4 separate regions of the Homo sapiens genome follow, and regions 1, 2 and 4 are each linked to region 3. The links are contacts of gene promoters, found by promoter capture Hi-C in blood cells and fetal thymus (Javierre and others, 2016). All regions are on one chromosome and are shown on one strand. Each heading gives the region's core, a stretch centred on a gene start or on the middle of the fragment in contact. The rest is flanking DNA. Distances are from core to core; before and after follow the strand shown. Region 1 overlaps FGGY (FGGY carbohydrate kinase domain containing). Region 2 overlaps FGGY (FGGY carbohydrate kinase domain containing). Region 3 holds the start of MYSM1 (Myb like, SWIRM and MPN domains 1). Region 4 has its middle 34 kb from the start of MIR4711.

Region 1 (2,700 bases), core at 13-2,512, 1.0 Mb before region 3:
GGGAACCAAGTGTTTCGGGACTTGACTTAGACACTGGCAACCTATCAATTGATTAAATTGGGCTGCGGATCCCAATGAATGTTGCTGGAAAGCACACAACTTTTTGCCTTTGAATCCTGATTCCAGTCAGTAGGGAACAGGTGTGGAATTCATGTTCACCACCCTCTAAGGGTACTCACAGTCTTAGCCTTCCTTGGTCTCAGCATTGGTTTTTTATGGTACCAATGGATCAGCTGCTTTTGGTGAGCTCTAATTAAGTGCACAAATAGGGCAAGCTTCCCAAATCCCACATTAGTTCTGCTTTGGAATGCCAGAACTTTTCTACCATGGAAAAATGCTTCATGCCCTGACTCTTAACAAACCCAGCAAGTTCAAATGCATTTCTGGGAGGGACAAGAATCCCAAGCTGTTATGTGAGAAGGCAACGAAAGAAAGGGCTTTTCTTGAAAGGGGGAAACAAAGGGCATCCAGAAATGTCACCAAAATGCCCTGCAAACTCTCAAGCTTGCTCCAAGTTGTTCTTTGAAGGCCTCGGAAGTATGATGCATGTAACTCTTTCCTGGGTCAAGGATAGCATACTTAAACCTGAGAATCTGAAGCCAGTATCAGCAAAGATTTCTTTTCATATGTCAAATACAAGGAATAAAAAGGAAAAATAACTCATGCTAAATGGCACAGACTTTGTAACTTTCAAAACTCTCCACCTATTTGACTTGTTATTTCTCTCTCCTCTTCCTCTTTTCCTCATTTTCTTCCTTCTCCTCCTCCTTTTCTTTTCTACACTCACTCCAAAGTCCCATCTAATAACTGCTTGATTCTAGGGGGACTCTCTGGTACTGTAGCTGAGAAGACATAGTAATGGTTGTTTTTATGCATGTGAATTTAACAGCAATCAGCTGTTTGTTTTATATTTAATTCCACATGTGCCAGAGTAAAACCATTTAGGCTATAATCCCCCAAAGACACCACATGTCTGTCTATTCCCAGAGTTCAGTGGACCATTGTGTTGACATATTTTCCCTCATCAAAGGAAAGAAACTAGCTTGGCCTTCAACTTGATGCTCCCAGAGACAAAGCAATGATGGAAGCCACAAAGATTCACCCACCACTAGGTCTTTGAAGTCCCAGATCTAAGTAGATCCTACAGGCTTCATGCTGGCACCCAACCCAGGCCTCTGGTAAGACAGACATAATCCTTCCACTGGTCACCATGGCTTCCTGCCCAGGGAAAGAGCAGGCTCTTTGGGACTTTCTAGCTCAGGAGAGCTGAAGGGGCCTTCATTTAAGGTGGCCATAGTTTATTATCCCAATGAACTCACCTTTGAGTCCTAGACACTTTTTGGAAGGAAAGGGAATGTTATTATTAATAATTATGCCAAGATTAAGACATTAGCTAGGTCTGTCCTGGATATATTATCACCCTTCCACTTCATTTCCAAGGAGCTGCTGATGGTTTGGAGAAATGATTGTCATTGGGCACTTCTCTCTTAATGATGGTAAGAAACAGAAGTTTCAGACTTCAAATTTTGATTTTAATGCCTCTATTCTGTGTTGCTTCTTCTGAAAGATTCTACCAGATGTTTTAGACTTCCAAAAAGCAAAGATATACCTAGAAAATACTGAAGTATGCAACAAATACTAATTGTATCCAGGGCGGAAGCCTTTCTGATGATAGTGAAAGGGGAAGAGGTTCCAGCCCCACATGTGGGAAGGGCCATCTTCTTGAAAGTCTTAGAGTAGGAGTTCTCAAACTTTGGACCAATAAAATATTCAAACTTTTTGGAGATCTACAACATAATTGTCAGCTTTTTATTTGATTATATAAGGACTTTAAACAAAGCAACTGCTCCATATTTACTCTCACCATTATTTCATAACCAAAAGGAGATTTTAATACCAAAAAAGTGGTTATCATGATATCAGAATAAAGGAGAATCATTTAAATAGTCTACATTTAATTTTGTTAAAATCTCAATACCCTGTCCTTATTGTTTCATTTCTCATGGACTAGTGAAGCTTTGTGAAGGACCTGCAGTGGGGACCAGCTGCACGAGTGTGTCACCCATTAAATTGGTGCCAGTAGAGTGGGGTGTTGCTGAAAAGATACCCAAAAATGTGGAAGCGGCTTTGGAACTGGGTAACAGGCAGAGGGTAGAACGGTTTGGAAGACTCAGAAGAAGACAGGAAGATGTGGGAAAGTTTCGAACTTCCTAGAGACTTGTTGAATGGCTTTGACAAAAATGCTGATAGTGATATGAACAATAAAGTCTAGGCTGAGGTGGTATCAGACGGAGATGAAGAACTTGTGGGAATGGGAGCAAAGGTGACTCTTGTTATGTTTTAGCAAAGAGAATGGTGGCATTTTGCCCCTGCCCTAGAGATTTGTAAAACCTTGAACTTGAGAGAGATGATTTAGGGTATCTGGCATAAGAAATTCCTAAGCAGCAAAGCATTCAAGAGGCGACTTGGGTGCTACTAAAGGCATTCAGTTTCAAAAGGAAAACAGAGCATGAAAGTTTGCAAAATTTGCAGCCTGACAATGCAATAGAAAAGAAAATCCCATTTTCTGAGGAGAAATTCAAGCCGGCTGCAGAAATTTGCATAAGTAACGAGGAGCCAAATATTAATCCCCAAGACAATGAGGAAAATGTCTCTAGGGCATGTCACAGGTCTTCATGGCAGCCCCTCCCATCACAAGCC
Region 2 (2,743 bases), core at 2-2,501, 1.1 Mb before region 3:
ACTCCAGGGATGGCCCTATGGCACTCCCTTATATGTCCTCAGCTTCCAGAATTGCTACATGTTGTCGTTTGCATGTTCCAGGTTAGTGATTAATAGGTATTAACTAGTTTAAACTAACCCTCACAAAATGGACAAGCAGCTAAAAAAGATTCAGTCAATGGATTTGCACGTGATGGAGATAATTATCACCAGTTCACCATTCAGATTCAAGTAAACAAGAAAATGGTGATGTATTTACTCAGTACTAGCTCCTCATATTGTAAGGTAAAAACAATGAAGACCTAGTCAAATAAGACAAGGATTGGGAAAATAATCAAAATTATCAAGAAGATTGCCTTAGATTTCGATACATAGGCACATACAAAATCATTTAAAAATCATCAAAAATCATTTTAAAATTATTAAAAACACACCTGGCCATAGACATATAGTGTACTTTTACATGTTGCTAATATTAGCATGAAGCCATCATGACAGGTAAACACATTGGAAATACTTTGGTTCAGCTATATTTCACTTGTTTTATAGAGTAAATAATCTATGAACACAGTATAGCACATCATGCTTTTTCATAAATAGGTTTTCATGTACTGAGGATGCATACTCAAAATTTATTTTAACTGATGGGGGTATATGGTTAAAAAACACTGTGGTGTCTGTTGACTTAGGGGCCGACTACCACTGCCATTGCCATTTTACTGGTTTAAGCTTTGTACTCTGTGCTGTGCTGATTATTTTAAGTACATGATCTTTTTAACCCTCAAAAGGACATTAGGACACAGATCATCTATCACCACTTTGTGAATAAAGGAACTGAAAATAGAGAGAATATAAGTAATTTTCCCAAGGTCATAAAGCCATTATGTAGTAAAACCAGAATTCAAGCCCACTTCTGACTCCAGGCCATTGCAAACCCTACATTCGGACTCAGTGGTACCATTCTCCCTGTCATGAAAACAGCCTGATTCTTGAGTGCCCTAGGCTGGAGTTCAAATCCTACTTCTGCTGCTTATTAGCAGGTGTGATTACCTGGAGTGAGACGAGCACGTGTGTATCAGTGAGATGCATCAATACAGGACACTGTACCTTTTTTTTTTTTACAGATGCTGACACATAGCTCTAAAATACAGGAATCTGCCTTCCTGAGGAACTCTGACTCATTTGACTGGAACAACAAGTTCACATGCTAATGTGTGGGCTGAGGCACGTGACCCCTCCATAGAAAAACAGAAAATATATCAATGTGACTTTCCTTCAACACGCATTAAGAAATGGCTAGTTGTTCTCTTATTTATTTTGCTTTCTTTTCCTTTTGACACAGTCATCTTTTGACCTGCACCTGGTATTCTGTGTAACCCCCATGAATTGGAGACAAAAATATCAATTGAGAAGCAGGAAGGGATGAGAGAAAAAGAGAGTGGGAGAGGTCTTTATCATTACTCATGATATGAAAACTGGCACCTCATTTATAATTTTAAGTACACTATGTGCACACATTTACATATCTTTAGAGTGTTGACTATATGGGTGTATACTTCATCAAAATTCATCAAGCTGTACATTAATATCTTTGTATTTCACCTTATGTGTACTATATCTCAATTTAAAGTTTGCAAAAGAAAATGAGAAAACAGAACTGCATGTCAGTATATTTATATTTTATTTTATTTTCAATTATAAAAATGCCTACCAAGAGAAAAAAAAATTTTTAGACGCCCAGTCCTCTAATTTTGACTCTAAAACATACCTCAAATTGGTCTCTTGGTCATAAAGGAGGGGAGGAGTGGAAGCTTTATAATTCTGTAGGAAATGGAGGCATTAGCAGAAAGATACTGGGTTTTAGAGATAAATGGGCTTGGGGTTGGATCCAGGCTCTGCTACTTATCAGATGTGTGAATCAAAGCTCAGTTTTCCCATTTATTAAGTGGGAATAATAATATCTACTCAGTGTTGTTGAAAATTCCAGTATCCCATTCTCTGACCACTACTGCCTAACTGGTCTCTTGACTTCCACTTTGGTTCCCCTTATAGCAGTCAGGACCAGTCTAGGTGATTTTTCAGAAGCAGAGAAAATAAAGGGCAGTGATTAAAATACAGACTGACTATAACAGACTGCCAGAATTTGAAACTGGATTTTTACATTTACTAGCTGTATAATCACGGAATAATTACTTAATTTCTTCATGCCTGTTGCCTCATCAGAAAATGGGGATAAAAATATGCCTTTCATAGGACTGCTATGAGAAGCACGTGAGTTATTTGAGGTAAAACACAACAATGCCAGCATATAGTAAATGCTACATAAACTTTAGATATTTATTATCCCTTTAGCATGCAAGCTCCATGTGGCCAGGGGTGTGTATTGGATTCATGCACCACACCAAGAACTGTGCCTGGCCAGAATAGTTAATCTATAAGGATTTGTTAAATGAATCAATGAATGATTTTACCTCTCTGGGCTGTTTTTACCTACAACACTCCTGACACCAAATGTATGGGTTTTTTCCTCACACTCACCAATTCTCCAACTCTCCTGCCACCAATTGCATGACTTATAATTAAATTTGATTCAATTCTGACACTGACCCCAGTTAGTTAGTGTCAGACCCCACAGCTTCAGGGCTCAGTCCAGCAAGACTGCCCACACTTCAGATGCCAATCACAAGTCCTGGGTCTCCTGTATTTCTGACCAACTGACCGCAAATTGGAGGTTTCCACAAACTCCACCCCCCAAGGCTTGATA
Region 3 (2,738 bases), core at 205-2,704:
GAGTGATAGCTGCTAAGGCAGGGGAATGCAGAAGGGTTTTTTTTTCTTTTCTTTTTTTTTGAGATGGAATCCCGCTCTGTCACCCAGGCTGGAATGCAATGGCGTGATCTCGGCTCACTGCAACCTCTGCCTCCTGGGTTCAAGCGATTCTTGTGCCTCAGCCTCCTGAGTAGCTGGGACTACAGTTGCCCACCACTACGCCCAGCTAATTTTTGTATTTTTAGTAGAAACGGGGTTTCACCATGTTGGTCAGGCTGGTCTCGAACTCCTGACCTTGTGATCCGCCCTCCCTGGCCTCCCAAAGTGCTGGGATTACAGGTGTGAGCCACCGCATCTGGCTGTCAGTATCTAATTTCTTGAGAAACTATAAACTAGACAGAAGTGGTGTTTATCCTCCAATTTCTAACAACATGATTGTTACATGGTGAGCACTCAGTAGAGGGTCAACAAAGCCTGGATTCTACTCCTGGCTCTGTCTTTGAAGCTACCTGTCCTTGGACAGTCATTTCAGCTCTCCAGGCCTCAGTTACCTCACCTGTAAAGTATAACTGGTGATATTAGCTCTGCCTACCTCACTGGGACACTGTAAGGATTAATGGTCATGAGCGTGATTTTTAAATTGCAAAGACGTCTACAAAATAAATTACACAATCATAAGTTATATTCTTAAATATTTGTTGAATTTTAAAATAAAAGTTGTTCAGCACTTAGGTGAAATGCTGAACGACTTCACATAAGTGCTGCACGACCCTTTTCTTTAAAAAACAAAGAGAGAGACTTAAATAACCAGCAGGTATGCAACCTTCAGTTCACAAAGCGGGTCTAGCTTGACTTTTTCATCAGTCCAGAAAGATACTGCTGTTATCCCCATTTTATCAGTGAGAGCAGTGAGGTCCCAAAGAATGTGTGCAAGAACAGAAGCTCTTAGAAGCTCAGGAGGGCCCGGGCGCGGTGGCTCACGCCTGTAATCTCAGAGCTTTGGGAGGCCGAGGCGGGCGGATCACCTGAGGTCGGGAGGTCGGGAGTTCGAGACCAGCTGGGCAACATGGTGAAACCCTGTATCTACTAAAAATACAAAAATTAGCCGGGCGTGGTGGCGCATGCCTGTAATCCCAGCTACTTGGGAGGCTGAGGCAGGAGAATCGCTTGAACCCGGGAGGTGGAGGTTGCAGTGAGCTGAGATACGCGCCATTGCACCCAAGCCTGGGCAACAAGAGTGAAACTCCCTCTCAAAAAAAAAAAGCTCAGGCGTGGGCCACTTCCCAAGGTCTCTACATGTCAACAAGTTAGAAAGGACCAAGCCCCAGGCCTCTGGGGGCGCCTTTGCTCTGGAAACCCCGCCTCCCGGCACGGGAGGGGCCGGACGACGCTTCAATCCCGCCCCGTGACGCGTTAGGCCCTGCCCCCGGGCCATCTTCGTCTCGCGGGATCTCTCGGGAGGACGGACGGGGTCAGGTCCCATCATGGCGGCTGAAGAGGCGGATGTGGATATCGAAGGGGACGTGGTAGCGGCGGCGGGGGCACAGCCAGGGTGAGGCTTAGAGACCGGGTCTCTCTGGGGCGGAGAGGGGAGTGGATTGAAGGAGCGGGCCCTGGGAAAGCTGCAGGTCCGGCAAGGGAAAAGGGAACAGAAGACTGTCCCCTGGGCCAGGGTCTCTTGTTGGCCTGGGAGGCACCTCGCCCGCCGGCTTGTCCCAAGCCCAGCGGGCAGGGCGGTTACCTGGAGCTCAGGTACTCCTGGGTCGCTTTCACCTTTTGCCGGATGCTGTGAGGGCACCGATTTCGCCTACCACATTGCGTTTGATTTACATTTAGATTCCTTCTTCCGTTCCCTCCTTTTCAGGATCTCATCGACAGTAACTAGAACAAGAGCGGCTACGGACGAGACCTGAGGTCAGGGACTCTTGTTCTATGGCTTGCTAGCCGTGTGACCTTGGGCGAGTCGTTTCATCCCTTCTTCCACATGGGGATAGTTGTAAAACTTCCCGAGAAGCAGGTTGACTTAAATGGGCCAGGTTTTAGAGTTGGACAGTTCTGGGTTTTCCTTCTGCATTTGCTCGCCCTACCAGTTAATAGCAATGTGACCTTGGGCAAGACACTTAACTTGTCTGAGCCTCAGACTGCTCATATTTAAACTGGGAGTCATGATATGTAATTGGGAGGATCAAATGAAATGATTATGAGATATGCTTTAGCATACGGTAGGTGCCCTCTGAATGTATTCTTTACCATCCTGTTACCCTCGGGGACAGTACTGTGAGAATCCAGTAAGGGATCACATTTTTTAAAATACCTGTTCCAGCAGAACAAACAGCCCAGTGTGATTTGACACAGAACCTCCTTTGACTCCTTGCTTTCTGAATCAAAAATGAGTCTCCTTTTAGTCATGAAGAGTCCTAGACTAGCCAGGAATCAGAAAGCCTGAGTTCTAAAGTCAGCCAGCTATGTTGTTTATAATTATGTACAATTTCCTTAGAACTGTATTAGCTTGAACCATATGAAATTGCCAATATTTAGACCATTTTTGTTCTATAAAGCGGCAACTTCATGTAGTTCAGCCTAATATTAGGGCCTCTGTGAACAGGGGAGAAGTACTAACCCAGCGCTTGAGGCACTAAGATAGTGTGTTTAGAAGTGTATCATGAACTCTAAAGCCCTATAAAGACGTGAGGGGTGATTAAACTCATATGGTCATTGTCCCTCAAAGCTTTGCAGATGAGTAGGGAGCCCTTAATAAC
Region 4 (2,758 bases), core at 64-2,563, 1.1 Mb before region 3:
GAATCATCTGCTGTTGCACAAATAAGCTAATTTAATTTATTTAGGAAGAAGCAGCGGAGTGGTTCTGCATCTGTGTTCCAGCTACGCAATCTTTTGGACCAGTCACTTAAACTCTAGGAGATGTAGTTTGGGTATTTGTAAACTGGGATCCCACTTTGTCAGGCCTACCCCACCAATTTATTATAAGGGGCAGATGAGATAATGTATGTGCAATCAATAGGGAAACTGTAAAGAAGTATTCAAATGGAAGGCATCCCTATTGATTTTGCCTAAATAACAGACACTAATAAATAAATCATTTTCTATTTCAAATGTGTTTACAATTATGCAGTAGGGAGGCAGGCTCACTCTAGATTTTAATAAGGAAGCACTTCTAATCATGGCTTAAGGCAGGACTTAAATAAAAATTAGGTCTTTAGAAAACACTTATGCTAATATGTAGTTTTAAATGATTTTCTGTGCATAATGAAACACGACCACAAAATTAATGGGCAAGTTAATGCTAAACTGAGAAGTCGGGATTTATTAGCAGAAGTCTTTGCTTTTAAAGTTACTTTAGTTTTACAAATTTTATAGGATTGTCAAATATTCAGAAGTACTGGGAGAAACATCTTTTTTAAAAACATAATTGTTCTTTTAAGTTTTCCCTCTAGAAATCATAAAAGGATAAAAAAAGCTTTTCATATTCAAGACTCCCTTCTATTACTGTCAATAGCAGTTAAGTGTATTTATGGAGACATGAGACAGCACAAAGATTCTTCTGTAATTCGTCAGAAGTCCCATCTTAAGTATAATTACATTACACAGCTCCACTCAGTCATTAGTTTCTTGTTTAGCAACGATGTCCTTCATTTTAAATTCTTGATGGTAATTATTTGTAACTATGCCCTTGAATTCTGAAAGCATGTGTCCTGCAGTCCTGGTGAACAATGGGTGTTTCTGGATTACAACACCTCTGGCTTCCCATAGGATATCATACAGGAAATAGTCTGTAACAACATGGAAAATTTGCAAAAGGTTCTCAGCTTGAGCTACAACCCAAAATGAAGTTGTGTGGTTATGCATGTGTGTATTATGTGCAATAAAAAACTAAAAAAGCAAGTTGTTAGGTATAAGGCATGATTTTTAAAAATCCTTAGTGACCAAAACACATTTTAAAGCATTTGACAGTTGCTTAAATTAAGGCATATTAACACGTACAGAAGATTGACCTGAAAGTGAGTTTTTTTAGTTCTACCAGTGTTTTTTTTTTTTTTTTTTTTTTTTCAGAAAAACATCTTGTGTTTGTGTATTTATTCACTTATGGAATACCCATTACGTGCCAAGAACTGTTTGGGTACAGAGAACAGGCTATAAGATACTCTGAGCCCTCCAAGAGCTCACAGGCCGGTGGCCGGGGGGAGGAAGAAAAAAGCAGGTAAGTAAATCTAAAGAACGTGATTATCCTCAGGCCTGGGAGAAATAGCAGATCATGTTGATATTAAAACCTAAGCATTCTAGCTTGCTAACTCACATGCTGATTTGGTGCATTCTTAAAGCTGGGCGTTTCCAGGGTTGCCTTACGATATTTTTACTGCTCCTCTTGGAACTTATACTCCCCAGTGCAACTGGCAACAACACAGATTATGCTCTGAATATAAAGATCAAATGCCCAGTCTGGATCTTCACAAGAGAGGGCGTCCCTTCTGGATGCCTCACTAGGACTCCAGCTCACTGTGGCATCGGGTCCTGTAGTTTACTGTAGCTCTGCAACATGCCACTCCATTCTGTCATTCTTGTCTTTTCTTCCTCACCTCCCCCAGCTTTTGTTCTCTTTGGCTCTTTTGAAAGCCACATTTATGTTCTTCGCATATGGGAAGTATTTTTGGTCAAAATTTAAAACCTGTAATGCGTTCCTTGGCAAAATGATTTGCTAAGCAAGTCTGGCTTTAACTTGAAAGAAAAGCTTTCAGTAGGCAACAAAACAAAAATCTCACAAACCACTCTGGCCACACTGCAATTCTTATTCATCAAAGCTAAATATACTTTACATGCATGTATTAAATAAAACCACCTTTCTCAGTGCAAGGAGGTGTGTATTGGAGTGATTAAAATTTTTATTACTGAGCCACACGTGGTTTCTAATAGAATTATATATAGACATTTATATTTTTTCCTAACACGGTGGCTTTATAGTAGGAACCAGAATGATTTTCTTAGGGATTAACCTCCTAGCTAGGAGGCAGAGAGAACCATGGAGAAACAATATTTGTAGAGTGCCTATTGTCTGAAAGGCATTGTGCTAAGGGCTTTATCCACAGTTCTTTCACTGAATCCTTACCACCAACCCTAGGAGGTAGGTAGCAGAATGATCCCACCACAGAGGGAAAGACTGAGGCTTAGACAGGTTAGCTATGTTGCCCAAGGTCTTTCAGCCCTTCTCCTTTCTATCAAGCTGCTCCTCACTGTTGAGATGCCAAAGGTGTCCTAGTGTTGCCATGTGTTTTTGCCTAATTTCTGTGTGTTTTCCTTTCTCTATAAAGCAGTGAAAACTCAGGTCAGGTTTGGTTTGGATACGAGTTTGCTTGAAAGAATGGCCAGCACCCGGAGCTTGGCAATCAACAACATGAGCACTGCAACTAAAGAGCAGGTGGTGGGCAGGATTCCTCTCCAGCTGTTACAGTGGGGTGATACCTAAAGTTTTGCATCCAGGCAGATCTGGATTTGAATCCTATCTCTGCTACCATCTGGTGACTCTGGGCAAAGTGTCTATCTTTTC

What was found. Contacts are between HindIII fragments. The CHiCAGO score rates a contact against its expected background, and 5 or more counts as called.
Region 1: a fragment that was not itself captured here is called in contact with the fragment with the promoter of MYSM1 in region 3 in 17 of 17 cell types (naive B cells, total CD4 T cells, total B cells and 14 more); the score reaches 26.5 in naive B cells.
Region 2: a fragment that was not itself captured here is called in contact with the fragment with the promoter of MYSM1 in region 3 in 17 of 17 cell types (monocytes, erythroblasts, activated CD4 T cells and 14 more); the score reaches 20.7 in monocytes.
Region 4: a contact is called between a fragment that was not itself captured here and the fragment with the promoter of MYSM1 in region 3, in 17 of 17 cell types (total B cells, naive CD8 T cells, monocytes and 14 more). The highest score is 16.4, in total B cells.

Annotation. Positions count from the first base shown.
Region 1 is chr1:59,712,784-59,715,483 of GRCh38, reverse strand. All of the region lies in intron 14 of FGGY (FGGY carbohydrate kinase domain containing), which reads right to left. Among named protein-coding and RNA genes, the nearest start is that of MIR4711, 19 kb to the left of the region's middle. The HindIII fragment of the contact is 1,512 bases long and covers 507-2,018 here.
Region 2 is chr1:59,749,264-59,752,006 of GRCh38, reverse strand. All of the region lies in intron 14 of FGGY (FGGY carbohydrate kinase domain containing), which reads right to left. Among named protein-coding and RNA genes, the nearest start is that of MIR4711, 17 kb to the right of the region's middle. The HindIII fragment of the contact is 1,082 bases long and covers 711-1,792 here.
Region 3 is chr1:58,698,778-58,701,515 of GRCh38, reverse strand. It overlaps MYSM1 (Myb like, SWIRM and MPN domains 1), which reads left to right and starts at 1,454. Exons shown (of 20, transcript NM_001085487.3): 1 at 1,454-1,531. The coding sequence starts at 1,464. RefSeq lists enhancers at 1,280-1,689, 1,900-1,959. The HindIII fragment of the contact is 3,791 bases long and covers 1-2,709 here.
Region 4 is chr1:59,765,421-59,768,178 of GRCh38, reverse strand. No RefSeq gene overlaps it. Among named protein-coding and RNA genes, the nearest start is that of MIR4711, 34 kb to the right of the region's middle. The HindIII fragment of the contact is 1,269 bases long and covers 679-1,947 here.